4 separate regions of the Homo sapiens genome follow, and all the other regions are linked to region 3. Evidence: promoter capture Hi-C in 16 types of primary human blood cells and fetal thymus (Javierre and others, 2016). All regions are on one chromosome and are shown on one strand. The core of a region is centred on a gene start or on the middle of the fragment in contact, and the rest is flanking DNA. Distances in the headings are between cores, read along the strand shown. Region 1 overlaps SSH1 (slingshot protein phosphatase 1). Region 2 overlaps SSH1 (slingshot protein phosphatase 1). Region 3 holds the start of TMEM119 (transmembrane protein 119). Region 4 overlaps SSH1 (slingshot protein phosphatase 1).

What was found. Contacts are between HindIII fragments. The CHiCAGO score rates a contact against its expected background, and 5 or more counts as called.
Region 1: a contact is called between a fragment that was not itself captured here and the fragment with the promoter of TMEM119 in region 3, in 2 of 17 cell types (total B cells and naive CD4 T cells). The highest score is 5.3, in total B cells.
Region 2: a contact is called between a fragment that was not itself captured here and the fragment with the promoter of TMEM119 in region 3, in 1 of 17 cell types (total B cells). The highest score is 5.7, in total B cells.
Region 4: a fragment that was not itself captured here is called in contact with the fragment with the promoter of TMEM119 in region 3 in 7 of 17 cell types (naive B cells, total CD8 T cells, total B cells and 4 more); the score reaches 7.2 in naive B cells.

Annotation. Positions count from the first base shown.
Region 1 is chr12:108,826,057-108,831,682 of GRCh38, reverse strand. All of the region lies in intron 2 of SSH1 (slingshot protein phosphatase 1), which reads left to right. Among named protein-coding and RNA genes, the nearest start is that of MIR619, 8.1 kb to the left of the region's middle. RefSeq lists an enhancer at 3,452-4,023. The HindIII fragment of the contact is 6,047 bases long and covers 1-4,579 here.
Region 2 is chr12:108,786,982-108,792,897 of GRCh38, reverse strand. SSH1 (slingshot protein phosphatase 1) reads left to right here. Exons shown (of 15, transcript NM_018984.4): 14 at 69-612; 15 at 3,654-5,916. The coding sequence ends at 4,910. Among named protein-coding and RNA genes, the nearest start is that of MIR619, 47 kb to the left of the region's middle. RefSeq lists an enhancer at 234-734. The HindIII fragment of the contact is 8,442 bases long and covers 1-5,916 here.
Region 3 is chr12:108,595,680-108,601,632 of GRCh38, reverse strand. It overlaps TMEM119 (transmembrane protein 119), which reads left to right and starts at 3,549. Exons shown (of 2, transcript NM_181724.3): 1 at 3,549-3,663. The HindIII fragment of the contact is 3,678 bases long and covers 3,024-5,953 here.
Region 4 is chr12:108,809,763-108,815,342 of GRCh38, reverse strand. It overlaps SSH1 (slingshot protein phosphatase 1), which reads left to right. Exons shown (of 15, transcript NM_018984.4): 6 at 4,015-4,083. It overlaps LOC101929204 (a long non-coding RNA gene), which reads right to left. Exons shown (of 4, transcript XR_945329.3): 2 at 3,827-4,045; 3 at 2,883-3,531; 4 at 1-977. Among named protein-coding and RNA genes, the nearest start is that of MIR619, 24 kb to the left of the region's middle. RefSeq lists an enhancer at 549-1,152. The HindIII fragment of the contact is 9,269 bases long and covers 1-5,580 here.

The sequences.
Region 1 (5,626 bases), core at 307-2,806, 230 kb before region 3:
ATGCCTCTCTGTTTACTGATCCTTCAGGGCCTCGCAGGCTTCATTTCTTCCAGGGAGGCCTCCCTGAACCCCTGTGTGTACGTGCATCTGCACCTTCCACCTCCTTCCACCGTGGAACTTGCTGCCTTATATCGAAGTTACTGTCCTGTGCCTGCCTGGCCCTCCAGTGTCACTCCAGACCAGGTGTGGAGTGGTCTGTGGCATGGGTGGAAACCGGGTCTGTTTCACTTCTAAATTCTCAGGCCTTAGCACTGACCGGACACAATAGACACTCAGCAAATACTTGTTGATCGAAACCGAATTAACAGAGCCTCCTTTTTGGAATGCTCGTTGGCACCCATCTTTCTATGCTGACAGCATTACATTAGTTCCTTTTTCTCCTAGAATTACCATCAAGTTCGCTGGACAATTGACAGTCCCCTCAGTAATCACCATGCAGAGTGGGGTACCATTGAGGGTTAGTTCTATCCAGGGAAAAGTGATTCCGTTTGTCTCAGCCTGTCCCATCAATCTGGGACCCTTTACAGGGCCTCTTCTTCAGGCTCATATTCTCTACTTTTTTTTCGAGATACAGCATCAGAAATCCTAAATTTGTACTATTTAACTCCCTGTTTCCTTAGGCATAAATTAGTGTAATAATGCCTGTCTGGTCTTCCACACGGTTTTGTGAAGATCAGATGAGTTGACATTCACCAGAATGCTTTGTCCACAGCAGAGTTTGTCAAAGGTCTGATCTGAGGTTGGTCTCGGTGGCTCACAGCTGTCACCCCAGCACTTTGGGAGGCCAAGGCGGAACAATCGCTTGAGCTCAGGAGTTGGAGACCAGCCTGGGCAACATAGCGAGACCCCATGTCTGTTTCACACAGCACAGGTCTGATCTGTTTTTGCTTTCACTGTCATCATTTCGTATTGTCATGATGCAGCGTCTCCCTTAGAGGGCCAGAAGAACATTCAGGTCTCTGAAAGTGTGTAGTAGAAGACTAGCATCTGTTTTACTGCTTCCAAAGAGAGTATTATTTTGTTTTTGACCCTAGCATGACCTCCCTTTATTGCACCTAATCACATCACCCACCTTCTGAGAGCACCATGCCTTTTTGTTGGTGTTACCTTTTACCAGCAGAAAACATCGACGTGTACCTATGTGAGAGGTATCTTTATGAAGCCCATGGAGAAGACTGTTTTCTCTGTGTCTTCTGATGTTGTTTGTTTGTGTGTTTGTTTTTGAGACAGTCTCACTCTCATCCAGGCTGGAGTGCAGTGGGGACTCCAGGATCACAATCTCCACTCAGTGCAGCCTCGACCTCCAGGGTACAAGTGATTCTCGTGCCTCAGCTTCCCAAGAAGCTGGGACTACAAGTGTGCGTCACCACGCTCAGCTAATTTTTGTATTTTTAGTAAAGACTGGGTTTCACCATGTTTTCCAGGCTGGTCTTGAACTCCTGACCTCAAGTGATCCACCCACCTTGGCCTCCCAAAGTGCCAGGATTACAGGCGTGAGCCACCATGCCTGGCCATGATGTTATTTGATTCTGAGGTTTTTAAAACTTGGCTGTGCATCAGAAGCACCCCCTGGAACTTTCTGGAGACAAGATCTGTCTCCCAGGTTGGAGTGCAGTGGTGTGGTCACAGCTCACTGTAGCCTTGACCTCACCAGGCTCAAGTGATTCTCCCACCTCAGCCTCCTGAGCAGCTGGGACTACAGGCACACACCACCAAGCCTAGCTAATTTTATTTTTATTTTTTTGTAGAGATGGGATCTTGTTACGTTGCCCAGGTTAATCTTGAACTCCAGGGGTCAACTGATTCTCCCACTTTGACCTCCCAAAGTGCTGTGATTACAGGCATGAGCTACCATGCCCAGCTCCCTGGAACTTTTTAAAAAAGTAGATGCCCAGGACTCATCACAGACCTTCCGAATTAGACTCTGCTGAGGCTGGACCTGGGCATGAATGTGTTTTAGGAGTTTGATAGGTTGTTTCAATGTATGACCAGAGTTGGAATTCAGGGGTGTTTGGATATTCCATACTGTGATGTTTCTATACCTACTATTTTTGTTCTTCAAGAAATGCTGTTTCTATGCAGCAGGGCAGACACCCAGATCACCAGCACATATACCCATTCCTTAAAGAGGATGGCTGTCTTTGCCCTTATCAGAGCTTGGGCTGGCTTGGCTTACCCTGTGCTCCATGCTCTGCAAATGTTTGCCTGTTTGGATGAATGAACAGAACCCTGTAAGGAATTCTAGGGGTTAATTCTAGGGGTTAATCAGAGTATATATGGTAGAATGTAAATTGGAACCCAGAAATATGAATTCCCAGACCATTGTTTTTACTTTTGTTCCCCACCGCCCCTGCCCAAGACAGTGTCTCACTTTGTCGCCCAGGCTGGAGTACAGTGGTGCGATCTTGGCTCACTGCAACCTCCGCCTCCTGGGTTCAAGTGATTCTCTGCCTCAGCCTCCTGAGTAGCTGGGATTACAGGCATGCACCACCACACCTGGCTAATTTTTGTATTTTTAGTAGAGACAGGGTTTTGCCATGTTGACCATGCTAGTCTCGAACTCCTGACCTCAAATGATCCACCCATCTCAGCCTCCCAAAGTGCTGGGATTACAGGAATGAGTCATCACCCCCAGTTTTTACTTTTCTTAAACCTTAAAGCGCGGCAGTCACCATGGGCGTTGTCCATGCTATCCCTGGTGATTCTATTTTGGAATTGTTGACGGGCTTCCTTCGTTTGTCATATGGAGAAAATACCTTACCCTGCAGAACTGCCAGAGTTCAATGACGTGGCGTAGCTAAGTACCTCCTACAGCCTTGGCCACATGGGAGATCCTCAGTAAATAATAGTCCTGTTGATGAGAAACTTACCTTGAAAGCGACTTCTTGGTCAGCGTGGCTGTGTGGTTTACAGAACTCCTTAGCCTCTATGCAGTGCAGAAGGGCCAAAGGATGTGTCCTGTCCCCCAACTATGACGGCAGTGGTGGGTAGGATAAGGCTGTGGGTCCCCTGCCCTTCTGATTTCTACTTGGGCAGATGGAAGAACCCCGGCACAGTCTCGTCTTCCTGGAGTTCTGTTTGCTTGAATGGTTCCTTCTCTCTCTTTCCCACGCATGATGCATTCACACACTGGGAAGAAGGACGGAAGATGTGATCCACATTCTGACTTCTCAGTGCCTTAGTGGCTTTGCCATTAGGCACCTGGGCAGGCATGAGCGGATGTGACCGCAGCATAATGGCTCTGATTTTCATTCTGGATGAGTAGAACAGCTGCTTAACAGGGGTTAAGCAGGTGGGCGTGGGGCAGATAGATGTGAGTCCAGCCCCATCTTGTAGAGATATGTGCTCCTAGGCAAGCTGGGGTTTCCTCACCTGCAAAACCAGAATCATGGTAATGTGTGTTTCACTTAATCCGTAGGGAGGATCGCTTGGTCACTTGTGAGCCGAGGGAAGAGAAGCCCCTACTCAGTGCTGCTTCCTTCAGGAATTGTTCCAGAAGTCACCAGTTAAATGCTCCCTCCTCCCTCTTGTAAACCCTAGCCGAGCCCCTTTCTTAGGGTACTTATTCCATTCTCTCCTGCGTCATGGTTATTCACATCCTGAACTTATTTCTCTCACTGAAAGAAACGCTAAAAACACAGCTCTTGGCTGGCTTGTGCCTGGAGGGTTTGGGATCACACCTCCAACCTTTAGGACCTTTGCAGCCTGACCTGCCTTGGGCACCGTGCGTATCCCAGAGCTCCTCATAGGTGTGCATGTGGTCCCCTCTACCTGGCGTGTCCCCTCAGATAGCTGTTAGCATGACTGAAGAATTTTCAGGATGTAACCGTGCTTTGAGTACGCAGAATAACTAACTGCGGCAGCTGCCCACGTCACCGTCACCGTTGGGTAAATGGATGCTGATTTGAAAGAAAGAGTCATCCTTCAGAATGTTGATTTGAATCGGAAGGGGGTCTTGTTGCTTGGGGTTGGTTCCTTGGGGCCAGTTGTTTGCCCTCACAATGTCGAATGCACACCCCGGTGCTTGTTTCTCCGGCCTACAGAAAAGCCCGTAGGAGTGCAGTGATTAGAGGAACCTCAGCTGTTTTGCTGAATGGCCCTCTTTCATCAGGATGTGCTGGGACAAGGGCCTTTTTCAGCCAAAATATCAGAGGAAGACAAGAGTTCCACAAGAGCCATTTGCTTTTCGGGTAGGACTCTGAGGAGGAGTTGGCTCCCCAGCCCTCGTGGAAGCACTCGGCAGCCTCCTGGCTTTTCCTGATCTCCATAGGGAGCAGATGGCCAGAGCTCGGAGGGCAGTTGTAGGGAGCGTTAGAGATGTGAGCACTGCAGCCACGAACCTCTTTTATTTTACCGACTTCTGCATCTTCCTTCAGCCAACCCACTGCTTCTGCTGTCCAGAGGTTTCCAGCTCAAATTAGTACGTATGACCACCCTGATTACTGGTTTCCTGCCATGGCTTGGTTTCTGGATGACACTGGCTGTTTATATTTTGGGGGCCTGGGGTTTTTTGAGGAGCATTGATTGAGGTTTTTTGTCTGTCTTCAATGCTTTGGAGAAACTTTAATCTTATGAAGCTTCCCGAATGGCAGTAATCAGTGTCCGAGAACAGATCTGTGTGGTGGAGATAAAAACATTCCAGTTGGCGGGTAGAGAGGGCAGCGGCTTTTTTTTTTTTTATCCCTCATCAAGATTTTTCTTACAGCGGTGGAGGAAGACATTTCCGTTTTGTCTGTCTGCGTCTGACCTTTTGTAACTTTAGTCACTCCTTTTAGGACACTCAGATCTTTTGTGAGAAGAGTGACTTCTGGGTGGCTGGGATGGATGGCTTGTGGGTTTGGGCTTCCTGGCCCCAGACACCTGGTAAAGTGAGCGTGCCATCACCAATGTGGATTTCTTCATGGACTTCCCCAGTGGGACACTTTGAGGGTCTGATGAATCGGGAGCCTGTGCCTCTGGGCATCAGAAGCTGCAGTCGTCAGATACAGTATTCAGGTCAGCCACGCAGAGGGCGCATGAGGCTCTGGGCCCAGAGTGAGCTCAGAAGAGAAGCCAGGAAGCCGGGTCACAGAGACTTTCTGCATCTTGTTTTCATAAATCCTGTGACTGACCATGCTCTGCGGCCTCCCACCCCACCCCCCACCCGGAGAGTCATGTCGTGCGGTTTCCTCTGGCTGTATCTCCTGACTGTATTTGCAGGACGCAGGGTGATCTCACAGCTTCGGGATAATGCGCTGCTACTTGGGCTTCCCTGCAGCTTCCAGTCTTGCTTTTTACAGTAAATGCCTGTTACTTGATTGTCGTGGGGGAACAGAGGCAGAGTGTTCCAGGGCCCCAATCAATGCCATCCTGACTTCATGCGTAGAGCAGGAGTCCCTGATTCTTATCAGTGTAGGAACATGGAGGAGGAACAGCTGGCCTTGTAAGTGATCACAGAGTGAAACCAGCCTAGTCTGTTGCATTGTTCCTTTTTTTTTCCAAAGGAAATATAAGGGAAACCAAGGGGAATTTTTGCTCATGGTTTCCAAGGCAAAGGTCATCGTTAATGGTTGGCTGTTTCCAGCGTGCTTGGGTTTCTGGTCAGTATGAATTTTTTTTTTTTAATCTCATGAACAAAAGCAGTTGA
Region 2 (5,916 bases), core at 1,069-3,568, 190 kb before region 3:
ATACTCTTCCCAGCACCCCCAGGCACCATCCTCCTCCCCTCACCTTCCTCTACCCTCTCTCCCCGCAGCAAACAGCGGCACAACAAGCTGTGGCGTCAGCAGACAGACAGCAGCCTCCAGCAGCCTGTGGATGACCCTGCAGGACCTGGCGACTTCTTGCCAGAGACCCCAGATGGCACCCCGGAAAGCCAGCTGCCCTTCTTGGATGATGCCGCCCAGCCCGGCTTAGGGCCCCCCCTCCCCTGCTGTTTCCGGCGACTCTCAGACCCCCTTCTGCCTTCCCCTGAGGATGAAACTGGCAGCTTGGTCCACCTGGAGGATCCGGAGAGGGAGGCTCTGTTGGAGGAAGCTGCTCCACCTGCAGAGGTGCACAGGCCGGCCAGACAGCCCCAGCAAGGTTCCGGACTCTGTGAGAAGGATGTGAAGAAGAAACTAGAGTTTGGGAGTCCCAAAGGTCGGAGCGGCTCCTTGCTGCAGGTGGAGGAGACGGAAAGGGAGGAGGGCCTGGGAGCAGGGAGGTGGGGGCAGCTTCCAACCCAGCTCGATCAAAACCTGCTCAACTCGGAGAACCTAAACAACAACAGCAAGAGGAGCTGTCCCAACGGCATGGAGGTAGGCAGAGCCCGGCCTGCAGGGTGGCACACCCCATCCCTTCCATCCCACTCTAATTGGCCTACCTCAGCCTCTGTAGTAGGGACTACAGGCACCCGCCACCACACCCAGCTGATTTTTTTCTATTGTCTCCTCTGGGCCCCCAGCTCCCATCTCCAGGGACCTGAGGGTTCTTTCACAGGGTGATTCTGCTGGTGGGTACGTAGTGCATACCTTATATAGCAAATTGAGAATCTGTTGGGAATAACACATATCTCTGCACACCATCTTCACCCCATGTACCTTATTCATACCCTGGGCAGGGCTTCCAACTCAATTTCTTTTTGTGTATGTAAAATTAAAACATATAATTTATCAGCCAACTTCAGCCTTTATCGATATATGACTATTCTTTTTCATCTCACCCCTACCACCCACTTCCCCACACCCCTGATGATCCTGGAACCAATCCCAGATTTAGATATAGATACCTGTATCTAAAAAATATATATTATAGGTATATACTGTAGATATAGATAGATACATACTATAGACAAGTTCTCACTGTTTCCCATGCTGGAGTACAGTGGCATGATCACGGTTCACTGCAGCCTTGACCTCCCAGGCTCAAGTGATCCTCCTACCTCAGCCTCCTGAGTAGCTGGGACCACAGGCGCATGCTACCACACCCGGTTAATCTTTTCTATTTTTTTGTAGAGATGAGGTCTTACTGTTGCCCAGCCTGGTCTCAAGCCATCTGCCCACCTTGGCTTCCCAAAGTGCTGGAATTACAGGTTTGAGTCACCACGCTTGGCCTCAGATATATCATTTTATTCATAAATGCTCCAGTATGTTAACATAGCCACAATACCATTGTCACCTTTTAAAAAAACTGATAGGGCCAGACGCGGTAGCTCACATCTGTAATCCCAGCATTTTGGGAAGCCGAGGCAGGCAGATCAGGAGGTCAGGAGATGGAAACTATCCTGACCAACATGGTGAAACCCTGTCTCTACTAAAAATATAAAAATTAGCTGGGTGTGATGGTGCATGCCTGTAATCCCAGCTACTCAGGAGGCTGAGGCACGAGAATTGCTTGAACCCAGGAGGCAGAGGTTGCAGTGAGTCAAGTTCGTGCCACTGCACTCCAGCCTGGGTGACAGAGCGAGACTCCGTCTAAAAACAAAAACAAAACTGATAGTAATTTCCCAACGTTGTCAAGTATCCAGCCTTCCAACTTAGACTCTAATACTTAACTCCATTAGTCTCTTGGAGTTGCCATTTTTAGTGGATTATCTGCCACAAGGTTTGAGCTTCAACCTGGTGCTTACTGAGAAATTGGTTAATTCCAGCCAACCTTTTCCCTCCTCCATGGGGGAAGTGATGCAGGAGCAGAGGCTGGTTCAGTGGAAGGGTGGCCGTGCAGCCTGGTCTCCACTTCCACCCTTGCCCTGCTGCTGACTTTGTTGCCTCTGGCTTCACCTGCCCATCTCACAGGACAGCCGTGGTTCTCAAGTGGGGGCACTTGGGGTCCTGACAGATGCATTCAAGTATACAGCCAGTTTATTATTATTAACAGCATGTTATAATGCAAACAAAACTGGGCAGTTGCATCTGTCGACCTCCATAAAGCATTCCAAATCAAATACTAATTATGGATTTCCCCCACTTCCCTGCCTACCACAAAGCAAATACCCATAAAGACAGATGAGATAAAACCCTGGGCCAGGTGCAGTGGCTCACGCTTATAATCCCAGCACTTTTGGAGGCCAAGGCAGGCAGATCATCTGAGGTCAGGAGTTTGAGACCAGCATGACCAACATGGTGAAACCCTGTCTCTACTAAAAATACAAAATTAGCTGGGCATGGTGCCGCACGCCTGTAATCCCAGCACTTTGAGAGGCTGAGGCGGGCAGATCATCTGAGGTCAGGAGTTTGAGACCAGTCTGACCAACATGGTGAAACCACATCTCTACTAAAAATATTAAATTAGCTGGCTGTGGTGGTGCATGCCTGTAATCCCAGCTACTCAGGAGGCTGAGGCAGGAGAATTGCTTGAACCTGGGAGGCAGAGGTTGCAGTGAGACAAGATCACGCAATTGCACTCCACCCTGGGCAACAAGAGCGAAACTTCATTTAAAAAAAAAAAAAAACTGGAAGCCATGGCGGGGCCTTTAAGCAGGTGGGTGATGAGCCCCCTCTGGCTGTGGTCTACAGGCAGGCTGCTGGGGTAAGAGGGGAAGTTGGGATGCTGGGATCACAGTGGCTCAGAGGATGGGGCAAGGACATAAGGAGGTGTTGAGAGACAGAGCTGGCGGGGTGTAGTCGCTCACACCTGTAATCCTAGCACTTTGGGAGGCCGAGGCAGGAGGAACACTTGAGCCCAGGAGTTCGAGACCAGCCTGGGCAACATAGTAGGACCTTGTCTCTTATCTGTTTGAAAGAGAGAGAGACAGAGCCCTGTTGCCCTCCTGCCTTGTCCTGCCCTCCAGCCTACAGTCCTGTGCAGGCGGGGTGGGGTAGGGGGGTGCCCTCCTCCTTCCTGCTTTGCTTCTGGACCTGCATGCTGCTCTCTCTGGCTGGTCAACACCTGCTTGTCCCAGAAGCCTCAGCTGAAGTGTCAGTTCCTCTGGGAAGCCTTCCCTCCGCGGAGACTTAGAACTTGTCCCTCTCTCCCCTGGGACTCTTCACACAGCTTTCTAGTCCATTCCCAGGACCACTGGGTACCTGTCAGTTGGCCTGTAAGGAAGTGAAGGGTGGGGACACAGAGGCATGTGTCACGTTCACTTAGATCCTCACTGACCAAAAGGCAGGAGGGTTTCCTTAGGAAACAATGTAAACTTGTTTTCTATTGGGGTATAAAATCCACCTCAGGCCAGTGGTTATTCTCGATCAAGTGGGCTCCAGGAGGTCTGTCTGTCAGTATTAAGTGAAATGAGAGCCTCCCCTCCAGGCCTGGCCCCCAGTCCGGCCTCGCACCCCTTTCCCTGCCCACCCTCATGTTTTTGGTCTTTGGCTCATGACTGCACCGTCTCACCATGCTCTTGTCCCCTTCCTTGCAGGATGATGCTATATTTGGGATCCTTAACAAAGTGAAGCCTTCCTATAAATCCTGTGCCGACTGCATGTACCCTACAGCCAGCGGGGCTCCTGAGGCCTCCAGGGAGCGATGTGAGGACCCCAATGCTCCCGCCATCTGCACCCAGCCAGCCTTCCTACCCCACATCACGTCCTCCCCTGTGGCCCACTTGGCCAGCAGGTCCCGTGTTCCGGAGAAGCCAGCCTCTGGCCCAACCGAACCTCCCCCGTTCCTACCACCAGCAGGCTCCAGGAGGGCAGACACCAGTGGCCCTGGGGCTGGAGCTGCCCTAGAGCCACCAGCCAGCCTTTTGGAACCTTCCAGAGAGACCCCAAAAGTCCTGCCAAAGTCCCTCCTTTTGAAGAATTCTCACTGTGATAAGAACCCTCCCAGCACAGAAGTGGTAATAAAGGAAGAATCGTCACCCAAGAAAGATATGAAGCCAGCCAAGGACCTGAGGCTTCTGTTCAGTAATGAATCTGAGAAGCCGACAACCAACAGCTACCTGATGCAGCACCAGGAGTCCATCATTCAGCTGCAGAAGGCAGGCTTGGTCCGCAAGCACACCAAAGAGCTAGAGCGGCTGAAGAGCGTGCCTGCAGACCCAGCACCTCCCTCCAGGGATGGCCCTGCCAGCAGGCTGGAGGCCAGCATCCCCGAGGAGAGCCAGGATCCAGCCGCGCTCCACGAGCTGGGCCCCCTGGTTATGCCCAGCCAGGCCGGGAGTGATGAGAAGTCAGAGGCCGCCCCCGCTTCATTGGAAGGAGGCTCACTGAAGAGCCCCCCTCCTTTCTTCTACCGCCTGGACCACACCAGTAGTTTCTCAAAAGACTTTCTGAAGACCATCTGCTACACCCCCACCTCCTCTTCCATGAGCTCCAACCTGACCCGGAGCTCCAGCAGCGATAGCATCCACAGTGTCCGTGGGAAGCCCGGGCTGGTGAAGCAGCGGACACAGGAGATTGAGACCCGGCTCCGGCTGGCGGGCCTCACCGTCTCTTCCCCACTGAAGCGCTCACACTCTCTTGCCAAGCTGGGGAGTCTCACCTTCTCAACGGAAGACCTGTCCAGTGAGGCTGACCCGTCCACCGTCGCTGACTCCCAGGACACCACTTTGAGTGAATCTTCCTTCTTGCATGAGCCCCAGGGAACCCCGAGGGACCCAGCTGCAACCTCCAAACCATCAGGGAAACCCGCCCCAGAAAACTTAAAGAGCCCTTCGTGGATGAGCAAAAGCTGACCCGCCTTTTGCTGCGTCAGGCTGGGCGGATATTTTCATATGATCCCTCCCTCACTTTCACTGTGGATTTGGATCGACCCCTTACATCTTGATTTCCCTTAAACGAGTGAAGTCATCCTAACTTTTCCCCTACTCTTGCCATAGAGAGGAGGAGAAGAAACTAACCAACATGCAGCACAAGAAGGGGAGCTGTCAGTCGTGTGGCCTGGGAGAACCAGGAGCCGCCGGCCAGGAGACACAAAACTCCGCTCCCACCGTGTCTTCAAGAAGAACCATGTTTTAGGAAGAACGTGCACACATAGGCGCACACATCCAGACTGTTCCCTTCGCATCCTGCAGAAGAGTCCTGGTGGTGGCAGCCTCACCGCGGCACACGTTCTAGCTCATTCTTGGCCTCGCAGAAAACTCTCGGATGGCAACATTAAGTCCTACCTCTGTTCTCGCTGCGCTTTTTATTTTTAAAACACACGAATGACCAAGGCTTGTTCCAGGGAATAATGCTCTGTCTGAAAGCGTTTTTCCAAAAAAAGAATTTTTCGTTTTGTGTTTTGGTTGGGACCCCAGACGTGTCAAGACTTTTAACCCGACAGCCCCAAGCACTGCTGAGTAAAGTCATCAGATGAGTAGTCCCACGCTGTTGTTGAGCTGACTCTGTGCCCGAATGGTGGTGCAGGCGCCCTGTCCTGGTTGTGTTGTTACGTGTTTGACCAGCACAGGGGTCCGGTGGGGAAAATGTATGGGTTGTTCTCAGTTGTTGCTAATGCTGAAGTTTAAATCTCAAGGGGAAGGGCCCACCTGCATTGTTGAGTGTCTGCTGCTGAAACACATGATTGTGTTTAGGTTTGAAATTGCTCAAGTGTCTGGCTCAGGTGGTGGTTCTGAGACACATCGTCCTGCTGAGAGCCCAGATGCTTAGGTCCACTAGGGCCCATCTAGGGAAGGGAAAGGAGATTTCAGCGGCTTCCCCGAAAGGAACGGGACTGTCGGGATGCTTCCCGGATGTCTA
Region 3 (5,953 bases), core at 2,300-4,799:
TGTGTGTGTGTAGCGTGTGATGTGTGGTGTGTTGACATGGTGGGAAAGCCCTTCAACAGGACAGAGGGAGGTAGGAGCCCTATTTTCGGGAACGGGCCCCTTGGGAGGGGGGTGGTCCCATTTCGAGATTTGCTGACACGGGGGCCAGTGCAGAAAAAAAGGGCTCTGACCTCCCAACATGCTAACTGATTCTGGGCAGGTTGCTCCAGCATGAACTGCAGTTTCTGTGTCCACCAAGTGGGCTTCCTGCATTCATTCATTTCCCCACAAGCACATAAAGGGCCTGCTGTATTTGAGGCACAGTGCTGGGGGAGCAAAACCCAGTGATTTGTGGGTGGATGATTCCAGACCCATAGGGAGACAGTAATAGTAATATTCAACTTGGGGTGGCAGGCAGAATAATGCCCCTCCCCACGAAGATGCCCACAGCCTAATCCCTGGAACTTGGAAATATGTTACCTTTTTTTTTTTTTTAAGATTTGAGGTCGTGCTCTGTCACCCAGGCTGGAGTGCAGTGTCATGATCATAGCTCACTGTAGCCTTGAACTGCTGGTCTCAAGCAATACTCCCACTTCAGCCTCCCAAGTAGCTGGGACCATAGGGATGTGCCACACCCAGCTAATTAAAAAAAATTTTTAGAGACAGGGTCTCACTAGATTGCCCAGGCTGGTCTTGAACTCCTAGCCTCAAGTGATCCTCCCACTCAGCCTCCTGAGTAGCTAGGGTTACAGGTGTGAGCCACTGCACCCAGCTGAGTGTGTCACACCTTATTTGGCAAAAGGGATTTGCCGATATGGTTAATTAAGGCTCTCAGGGAGATTATCCTGGATCCTCAGGGTGGGGCCAACGTCAACACTAGGGGCCTTCAACGTGGGAAAGGGAACCGGAAGAGAGATGGTGGTATGAAAAGGACCCTGCCTGCTACCACTGGCCGGGAGGGTGGAGGAAGAAGCCTAAGAGCCAAGGAATGCCAGCAGCTTCTAGAATCTTGAAAAGGTAAAGAAAGAGATTCGCCCCCAAGACTCCAGAATGAACGCAAGCCCTGTTGACACTTTGATTTTTAGCTTCACGAGGCCCGTTTGGGACTCTTGACCAAAAGAACTGCAAGAGCATGAATGTGAGTGGCTTCTGGCCTCTAATCTGTGGTCATTTGTTACAGCAGCAACAGGGAACTATACCCTTGGCCTTGGCCTGTGCTTTTGACATTGCTGAGCACGTGCATGCTCCCTAGCTCCTCTGCCTTCCCCTGCCAGCTTCCGAGTAGTAGGGAGTCTCCATCTCCATTTTACAGAGGAGGAAACAGAGGCTCCATGTGGGGCAGGACATGGTGGAGGCAGGATTTGAAGTGGGTCTGTCTGCCTCTCGCTAGATGAATGAATGAATGAATGAATGAATGAATGAATGTAAGGGGCTGCTAATCCACGGGACTCCTCAGGTCAGCCAGATGTCCTGGTTCCAGGGCCTGCCACTAACTCACCTCAGATCCCTGCTTGAACCATTAGAACTCACCTGCCTCACTTTCCCCCTCTGTGAAATGGGGCTCCAACGCCTATTCAAGCTACTATCATTGGGGGCATTGTGAGGCCACAGATCCCAGAACAAACCCTCCAAACCCTCATTGACTCCCTACTGCCTCCTAGGTGACCTTCCAATACTTTAGCCCAGCTCCTGCCAATGTCTCCAACACTTACTACCCCTCCTTCAGGGGGATGCTCTGCCCAGGAGGGAGAAGCAAAGAACGAGGGGAAGGGGACTCCGAGAGCTTCCCTCAGGCTGGGCCTCTGGGGCCACCTGTGCAGGGAGCAGGCTCTATTTGGGTTGGTTGTGTCCCTGCTCCTCGACATCCCAAGGTCCCCAGACTGCAGCCCTCAGAATGTTGGGTAAGGTCTTCTTCCCCTGCTGGTGGGCCCTGGGGGAGGTTTGGCTGCCCCTGACCACCCGATGTCTGGTCTAAGACAGGTCAGGTAGGCCTGGAACACCCCTGGCCACCTTAAAGCGGGCACAGCTGCTACAACATGTCTGTGGGTGGCCACTTGCCCCTGGGACATGTGTGTGCATGAATGTGTCTGTGCGAGTATTGGTGGATGGTCCCCTGTTCCCTCGAAGATGCAGGGTTTGGGGTGATTTCCAGAGAAGATGGGAAAGTCTCTGATTTTATTTCCCAAGCAAATGACTGTCCCAGTTTTCTGGGGGTGAGCGAGGGCTGCTGGGACCATTGCAGGGAACAATGATAATCTAGGCTTGGTTCCTACCCAGAGAGCACGCACTCATCCTTCATGCACTCCCCTGTTCCAAACCCTCACTGGCTCCGTACTGCCTCCGACCTTCCGAGACTTTAGCCTGGCTCCTGTCAACATCTCTGACCCTTACTACATGATCCTCTCTTTGGTCCATGCTCCAGCCTAATCTAATTGCGGTGGCTTGTGCGTGGTGGCATTCCCAGCCACCATACCTTTACCCACGCTGGTCCTTCCATGCGGAATGCCTTTCCAGGGCCTGCTTTGCCCGCTTCTGCTCATACACAGGCATGCCCTCCAGGATGGCTTCCTACCTCTTTCCCTTGGGGGATTGATCTCTCTGTCTTGGGGTTCTCGGAGCCCTTGACCTGACCCCTTTCTGTTTGGCAAAAAAGTAATTTACCTCGGTGTCCTTCTCCCTGGTAGTCTGTGAGCTCCCCAAGGCTGGGCTGTGCCTGATTCACCTCTGGAACTTGCTTAGCACAGTGCGTGGCCTGCTGCAGGTGTTCATTGAGCACTTGCCGAATGAATGCATGAATGAATGAATGAATGAATGAATGCAAGGGGCTGCTAATCCACAGGACTCCTCAGGTCAGCCAGACGTCCCGGTTCCAAGGCCTGCCACTGACTCACCTCAGGACCCTGCTTGAACCATTAGAACTCACCCTGCCTCACTTTCCCCCTCTGTGAAATGGGGCTCCAACTCCTATTCAAGCTACTATCATTTGGGGGCATTGTGAGGCCACAGATCCCAGAACATCAGAGTCAGAGGTAGCCCAGAAAGCTTCCCACCCATCCCTACAAATGGGAAACTGAGGTCTGGAGAGGGAAGGGCAGAGTTGGGCTCCCTGTCTCAGGCTCGGACCCACCATCAGGCCTGTCTCTAAAACGAATCCCAGCTCCCACGCTGCACCCTGAGCCTGGAAGCCTGAGCCACACAAGGACGGGGAATTTTCCTTCCCACTTCCAGAGGCCTCTGAACCTCCCTGAGCTTGTCCCCTTTGGAGGGTATTGGGCAGCAGCGTGGGCAGAACCCCAGCTCACTGTCTGGGGGAGCGCTGCAGGACAGCCTTGTCTGTCTGTCTCAGCCTGCCCTGGGGACCCGAGGTCAGGGAGGAAGTGCCGCATCTGGTCTTCCCCAGAGCGAGAGTGTGAGCAAGGGTGGGATTGCGTGTGGCCCGAGAGTAGCCCCTCCCCTCCCCCTGTCCCCACCCCAAACCCTCTTAATGAAATCAAGCTGGCCCTGCGGCCCAGCCGGGGAGGGAGGAAGGAGGAGGGACGGGAGGAGGGACGGGAGGAGGGAGGGCGGGCAGGCGCCAGCCCAGAGCAGCCCCGGGCACCAGCACGGACTCTCTCTTCCAGCCCAGGTGCCCCCCACTCTCGCTCCATTCGGCGGGAGCACCCAGTCCTGTACGCCAAGGAACTGGTGAGTCCTGGGGTCCCCTCCTCTGTCCTGAGAGCCTGGAGCTATCTTGGAGCTTAGGGACTGGGGACTGTTGGAGCACTCTGGGGGGCCTCTCTAAGTGTGTGTGGGCTTTGAGTGTGTGTTTGGTGTTGTGTGCATGAGTGTGGTGGAATCTGAGTCCCGTGTGCGGTGCTGGGGTGGGCCAGGGTGGGCCGGAGTGTTGTGTGTGTGCGGCTGGGGCCTTGGTGTAGGGGGTGTGTTGCTTCCACTTTTCTGCAAGTGGATGCCAGGCTGTTGCTTCCAGGATCTGTGTGAGGGTGATGTGGACGGTATTGTCCTGTGTGCAGGGATCGGCTGTGTGTCAGGGGGTTGTGTATGTATATGTGTTGTGTGTCCGTGTGTGTTCTCTGTGTATTGTGTGCATGGGCCATGAGAGTGCTGTTGGGTGTCTCAGTGCTGTGTGAGTCGGTGTGCCTGTGTTGTGTGTCTTTATATTGTGTGTCCATGCTGCTCTGTGTGTGTGTGTGTGTGTGGAGGGGGATTGTGCCCCCAGGACCCCCCTCCCCATCCAGACCTCCAGGGCCCAGGTCCCTGTCCTTGGCTGGCCCTGGGGTCGGGGGCATGTGCAGTGCTCCAACCAGAACACCCCTCCCCCACAAGGCCACTGATTGAAGCCAGGTTTCCGTGGGCCGCCCCTCCCCCAAAGGCCACCAGTCTCTGGGTGGGGGTGGGGCAGCCCCCGGTCCCCTAGCTTCAAGTCTTGGGGCCCCCAGGCCTCAGGGGTGCATCTGCACTCCTCCACAGACTCAGGACCATCTTAGGGCATTTGCCACACTTACACACGGCCAGCCCTGCCTGACATGTCCCCAGGCAGGGAGTCCTGGGCAATCACGTGGTACCTGCTAATTGGCACCCACTGTGCACCAGGCATGGCCGCATCTTGTCCTAACAGCAGTCCAGGGAGGTGGCTCTTATCCCCATTGTACAGATATGGAAACCGAGGCTCAGAGAGGTGACATGCCCAGCCCAAGGACACATAGCCGGGAAGTGACCTCCTCTGGGATATACCAAGACAGGCTTCTCTGTCCAGGGCTCTGCTGGGCTCACCCCTGACTTTCTGTGTGACCTGGGCAGGCTGTTTCCAGTCTCTGGACCTGAGTTACCTCTAAGGTGAAGCAAGAGGCGTTGGGCCTGACCCCAGCTCCTAATGGCCTGTTAGATTCTGAGTCCTTGAAAAAATTAGGGTCCGGGGGGAGGTAGGCAGAATAATGACTTCAGAGCTGCCCAGAACAGTGCTTCATTCCACAGATGGGAAACTGAGGCCCAGAGAGGGCAGGGGCCGTCCAGGGCCACACAACCATCTTTTTTGAGGCTCTGCTGACTGCAGGTGGGGCTGGGTCCTCCATACGTTGCCCCCACCTTTCCCTGGAAGCCAGGAGGGGTTGTGGGGTGCAGGGGACTCTGAGAGTCAGGGTCTCAGCCTTAAAGAGCCAGTGGCAGTTTGTGTGTTCTCCTTTCTTGCCCTCTGCCTCTGACTTCGTGTGTGTGTGTGTGTGTGTGTTGTATGTATATGTGTGTGTAGGTGTATGTGTGCATGTGTGTGTATGTGTATGTGTGTGCATGTGTGTGTTTGGTTCTGCATTCCTTGGCGGCCAGAGCTAAAGAGGTTTCACTGAACGGGGTGAAAAGGTTGGTCTTTCACTGGGTGGCGGCCGGACCAGACAGTGAGCGCATGTTCCCATCCGGCGATGGTGCTCATTTGTCGACTCAGGGTGGGAAATTGCTGGCTGAACCTGGAGTTCGGCTAGGGAAGGAATTCAGCTACCCCAGACCCTATCTTTCCTCGGGGCTCAGCTACTTCGCACCAGGCACTCTCTGAAAGTTGTCTCATTTGGCCCTAACAGCTCTGAGAGGTGCTACCTGTGGTCACCCTGTCCCAACTTACGGATGGGGAAAGTGAGGCCCACAGGAGCCAGACCACAGAGCTGGATGCGATGGAGCCGGGATTCTTGACCCAGCCAGAACTTGAGTGGGTCTCCAGCCACCCATGGTCCCAGCTGCCCTCTGCAGTGAGAAGTGGTAGTTGTTGCCACAAAAGCTCTCTCCTAGGCTTGACTGGGGGTGGGAGGCAGGGAGGTGACTGGCAGGTCACAGACCCCAAAGCTCAAGGTTGTCTGTAGGAACCTTTGCTAACAGGTGCCAGAGAGGTGAGGGGGTCCTTTCCTCATTTAGCATCTGACAGGTGATGTCCACCAGCGGGAACAAGCCATTCCTGGCTCAGAGTGTGTGGTGTGTGCATGTGTGTGTGGTT
Region 4 (5,580 bases), core at 878-3,377, 220 kb before region 3:
CACACCTACAAAATGCCTCTGTGAACATCTCATTTAACCCCTTCATCCCCCTGGGGTGGGTAGTGCTACCTCAGATTTTACACATGACAGTCAGAAGCTCACGAGGCTGCAGTGATTACCCCAGGGTCATCCCGGTTAGTGGCCGGGCTGGGACTTGGAGGCAGGGCTTTTCCTGTCGACCTGCTGAATGAGTAGATGCCACTCATTCTTTCCCAGCAGGCTGCAGCTCTCTTCCTGTACACCACCTTGCTCATTCATTCACTCCTAGGTTTATCATGTATGGACTTGCTAGCTCTTTCCCTGTGCCGGGCGCCCCGCCAGGTGCTGGGGCCACATCAGGGAGCACGGCAGACACACCTACAGTCTCACAGAGCTCACAGGCCAGCAGTCACGGGCATGCCTTAGATGCCCACATGCGCATCCCACTCCGCTGCTGCCTGGCTGGAGGAGACTGGCCCGTGCGCTCGTCCGCACCGCCCCCATGGCGCTCTTCCTTCCCACCCTCTCCTCCCTTTGCCTCCCCTCGGCACCCCGACTTCAGTTCTCCCAGGTCCCTCTCCCTGTGGTTCCCTCGCCTCTCCTGCATGCTCTTCCCTCAAGTTCGAGTCTCTGCACCCTCTGAGCAGGAGCCACGGCCCACCTGTGGGCACCGACCCCAAGGCCAGGGCAGGTCTCTGAGGTTGGAGAGGGCGGTTGAGAGGCCACCCAAGATGAGCAGGGGCCTGATGGGAACCGGAACTAAGCAGTCTTTCCTGTCGCTGGGCCTGACACAGCTGCCTTCTGTGCCCAGGGAATCCCGGGGGCTGGGAACTGGGCCTTCTCCTGCAGCTCCCACATTGCCCGGGCACCAGGCTGTTGTCTTCCTTCCTGGCTTGAAAAAAAGTCCAGGTCCCCGCCAGAAGCCTTTGGCCTGCTGAGGGAGCAATGTACTTGTTTTTTCTAAATTCCTTCCTTGGGATTTTATTTTTTTATTCCCCCTGCCAAAAAAAAAAAGGAAGAGACAAGCATTACCCCCAAAGGGCATCTTCATAAGAGTCCAACGCTTCTCCAGAAGGCAGCATTGGAATGGCGGCTCCTGCAGCAGGCTTGCGCACTCTCAAAGTTTTTGTTTTTGTTTTTAAGATGGGGTCTCACTCTATCACCCAGGCTGGAGTGTAGTGGCACGATCTTGGCTCACTGCAACCTCTGCCTCCCGCGTTCAAGCGATTCTCCTGCCTCAGTCTCCTGAGTAGCTGGGATTACAGGCATGCACCACCATGCCTGGAAAGTTTTTGTATTTTTAGTAGAGACAGGGTTTCACCATGTTAGCCAGGCTGGTCTCGAACTACTGACCTCAAGTGATCCACCCTCCTCGGCCTCCCATAGTGCTGGGATTACAGGCGTGAGCCACTGTACCCGGCCTCACTCAGAGTCTTATATCTGCATACGCATCCTGGGAAGACCAGAGCAGCCATGCCACCTTAGGGTTCAATCGTGGATTCTATTCTCTTCTCTTCTTTCTTTTCCTGTTTTCCCTATCCCCTTCCCCTTCGCTTCCCTTCCCTTTCACCTTCCCTTCCCCTTCCCTTCCCTTCCCCTCCCCTCCCCTCCCCTCCCCTTCCCTTTCCTTCCTTTTTTTTTTTTTTTTTTAATTTGGAGACAGGATCTCGCTCTGTCACCCAGGCTGGAGTGGTGAAATCAAGGCTCATTGCAGCCTCAACCTCCCAGAATCAATCATTTCTCCTACCTCAGCCCCCTGAGTAGCCGAGGCCACAGGCACATGCCACCATTCCCAGCTAATTTTTTTTTATATATAATTTTTAAAAAAATCACTATTGCCCAGGCTGGTCTCAAACTCCTGGGCTCAAGCAGTCCTCTTGTCTCCACCTCCCAAAGTGCTGGGATTACAGGTATGAGCCACCACACCCGAGCAGGATTATGTTTTCGATTCGGATTGGGAACATTTTGAATGCCATGAGTGTACACCACCATCCACACATCAGTGTTTTGCCATTGGTGAAGGACTCCACGATGGGGTCTTGGAACAGGCTGGTCTCCTGCCTGGACCTCCAGACCCATCTGGCTTCTCTGTTCCCGCCATACAGGCCCTAGGAACTTGGAGCCTGCTTTCTTCTTCTGCAATTGCTCCCACCCACTTTATCCTTTGGGGTCACTCTTCCTCTAAAAAGATTCAGCTTCCCTTACTATGTATCCCTTTCCTGCTTCCCATGTATGCTCCCCAGGTGGAGACAAGAGGACTGCTTGAGCCCAGGAGTTTAAGACCAGCCTGGGCAATATAGTGGGGCCTTATCTGTACAAAAAAGTTTTTTTTAAAAAGCTGGGCATAGTGGCATGTGCCTGTGGTCCTAGCTACTCAGGAGGCTGAGGTGGGAGGATTGATTAGGCCCTGGAGGTCGAGGCTGCAGTGAGCTGTGATTACACCACTGTATTCCAGCCTGGGCAACGGAGCAAGACTCTGGCTCAAAAAAAAAAAAAAAAGAAAAGAAAAATATGCTTCCCATGGGTCTTCCTTCCTTGTAGAAATCTTATTGTTAATCATTGTAGGACTGCTGGAAACTCACAAAAGTAACAGCTAGGGGATGATAGGAGATGCGTGCAGTTGTTGCAGTCCTGTATGGTCCCTGTTCCATGCTCCTGGCTCTAGTTGAAGGCCGTGAGCAGAAGTCCCCTGTGGGCTGAGCCTCTTGCGCATCTCTGTCCAAGGGAGGCCGGCCTAGGGGCTTAGGTTCCACATGGTTTTATGTGCCCCTTATTTCCCATGGGCAGTCTCATCCCTGCCCCCTTGACCTCCGCCTGCCCTGGAAGGCCCCGCCCCTGGCCTAGGCCTGGCCTTGGCCCTGCCCCCGTCCTGTGCTCTCTGCAGCTCTCTGTGCTGTACCCACCTCCTTATGAGTTCCTGGTGAGGGTTGTCAGGGCTCAGGTTGGGTCTTCTAGACTGCACGTTCTCAGGGCACCATCTGACCTGGCTTCTGCCTGTCGGATTTGGGCTCCATAGGGACCCTTTCCTTGCCTCCTCCTGGGGCTGACACAGCCACGTGGTCCCTAGAGCTCTGTGAGGCCCAAAATAAATTTTATTTTTCAGTGCTATAAGAGAAATACTAGTTAGTCCCTCCAGAGTGGGTAGGATGGCACGGAGGGACCTGAGAATTTGCCCAACCCAAAAGCCTGAGTGTCATTGGCCGGAAGGGCTTGGAACAACCTTCCCCACAGATATAGAAGCATGGGGTTGAGAAGAGTCCTGCATGGGGCAGGGCGCTACCTGGGAGGGGAGCTGGGTCTGTGATCCCCAGAGGCCCCATTCACACGGGCACACATAAAACATGACCGTGGTGTTGGCAGCAGCAGAGATGGAAGCATGAGATTCCTGAGGTCCACAGAGCTGGCTCTTGGCACGGTTACAGCGGCTTCTCACAAGTCGACTTTTAAATGCCTGAAGAATTTTCATCATAATCTGAGGACTCTCCGATAAGCCCTTTCTTTCCCTCTGTTTTTCAGTGGCGCCAGTCTCTGCAGTCATTCGGTCTCATTTCACTGGTAGGATGGGCAAAACAAAACCAGATTAAGCGAGATTGTAAAACCGCAGCCACACTAAAGGCGCAGGTGCACAGGTCTGAAAGTGAGCTCCGGGAACGGTGTGAGCACGCTCCCCCTGCCGCCACCCAGGACAGGCCAGGCCGGGCTTGGCTGCCGGTGCTTGCCTATGTACCCCCAAGTACACATGTGGCCTCCGCCAGCAGAGCACCAGCCCTGGGCAGCTGCCTCCCTGCTGTAGAGTGGGCGTGCGGTCAGCCCACACTGCACCCAAAAGCCTCAGCTGAGCACTTACGGAGTTGTGTCCACAGGGCCATCCCAGACCTGTGTCTTCTAGAATTCATCAGTGAACGGTTCCTATGCAGACAGCCTACTCCCACACGTACGTCCAACAGCCCGTCCTGGACCAGGTGGTGAGCTGGAAAGGCTGTACACGTAGGTGGGTAGACGCTGACTCCACATGTCTTCTCTCCCCCATCGCAGTAAAAGCTGCACCATTGGGATGGTTCTCCGACTGTGGAGCGACACGAAAATCCACCTTGATGGAGATGGGTAAGGAGGTCTCTTTAAAAGATTCTCTCACTGTATGTAGTAGGCATTGAAAACACGAGCTGGTTCAGGCATCCTTGGATGATCATTAGCACTGAATGACACGTGTGGCGGGAGTGTCACAGCGGGAGAAATCATATTGCCCTCGAGTGAGAGGGCACGAGGGAGGGTATGTTTTGGACGTCTGATTGGGGAGTTTAGCTCATGAAGTATCAGTGGGAGTGATTACAGGAGATATGCTGCTGTGTGAAGTTCAAGACAGCGGTAAACCGATACCCATCCGCCACCTCGATGGGTTAAGTGAACTCTCACCGCATGCCCTCCATGGGGCTTGTCCTGAAAGTTCACGGACTAATGTGGTGCAGCAGGAACTCACCAGCTTTGGGGGTACAAGGAGAGACATACAACTGACAGGCACAACAAGGTTTCAAGCGCCACCCTGGGGGCCACAAAGGAGGAATGAACCAGTTCCACCCGGGCAGGCAGTCGGGGGATGAGGGGCCGTCTAGCGTCCGCACGCGTTCACTCCCAAGGAAGGTGTGTGGGCACGGTGAGGAGTGGGAAGAAACAGAATAGGAAAGTGGCCTGACACGGGGATTCTAAGCAGGTCAGAGTTATGTTGCCTTGTAGGATGGGAAGAGAAAAATAAAAATTTGATTTGTTGTTTAAGTGATGGGGTTATGGGGATATTTTTCCTTTTTAATTTTAATATCTTTGTATTAATTTTTTTTTCTCTTTTTTTCAACGGAGTCTCACTCTGTCACCCTGGGTGGAGTGCAGTGGTACGATCTCGGCTCACTGCAACCTCCACTTCCTGGGTTCAAGTGATTCTCCTGCCTCAGCCTCCCGAATAGCTGGGATTACAGGCACCTGCCACCATGCCTGGCTAATTTTTGTATTTTTAGTAAAGACGGGGTTTCACCATGTTGGCCAGGCTGGTCTCAAACTCTTGACCTCAGGTGATCCACCCTCCTCGGCCTCCCAAAGTGCTGGGATTACAGGCGTGAGCCACCACCCCTGGCTTGTATTAATTTTTTATATTTTATATTAGTATTTTATATTAACATATTTATATTAATGTATTAATAGATATTTTTATATATTGATTATTTTCCGTGCAATCCTATGAATATAGTTTCCATGCAATTACAAAAAGGAACGGCCGGGCCTGTGGGACAGGAGGTGGCAGGGAGGCAGGAACCACGTTGGAACATAGAGAGACGCTCTCGGAGGCCTTCACCTGGCACCCTTTGCTAGGGTTTCAGTTTTTGGTGGAACTCGCAGTGCTGGGTTAAAAACAAGCCCTCCTCATCTGGGAATGTGTCTCTTTCTGCCCTTGCCCATGTCTCTGCGAAAGCGGGTTCCGTAAAATCCCTCATCATGTGGCCTGAGATGTGCTTGTTCCCAGCGTGCGCAGTGGTTTGGCTCCCTCCTCCCAGAGTGATTTCACTCAAGGCGCTGATTTCTCACCACAGATACCTTTCTCTCTGTGTTTTATTC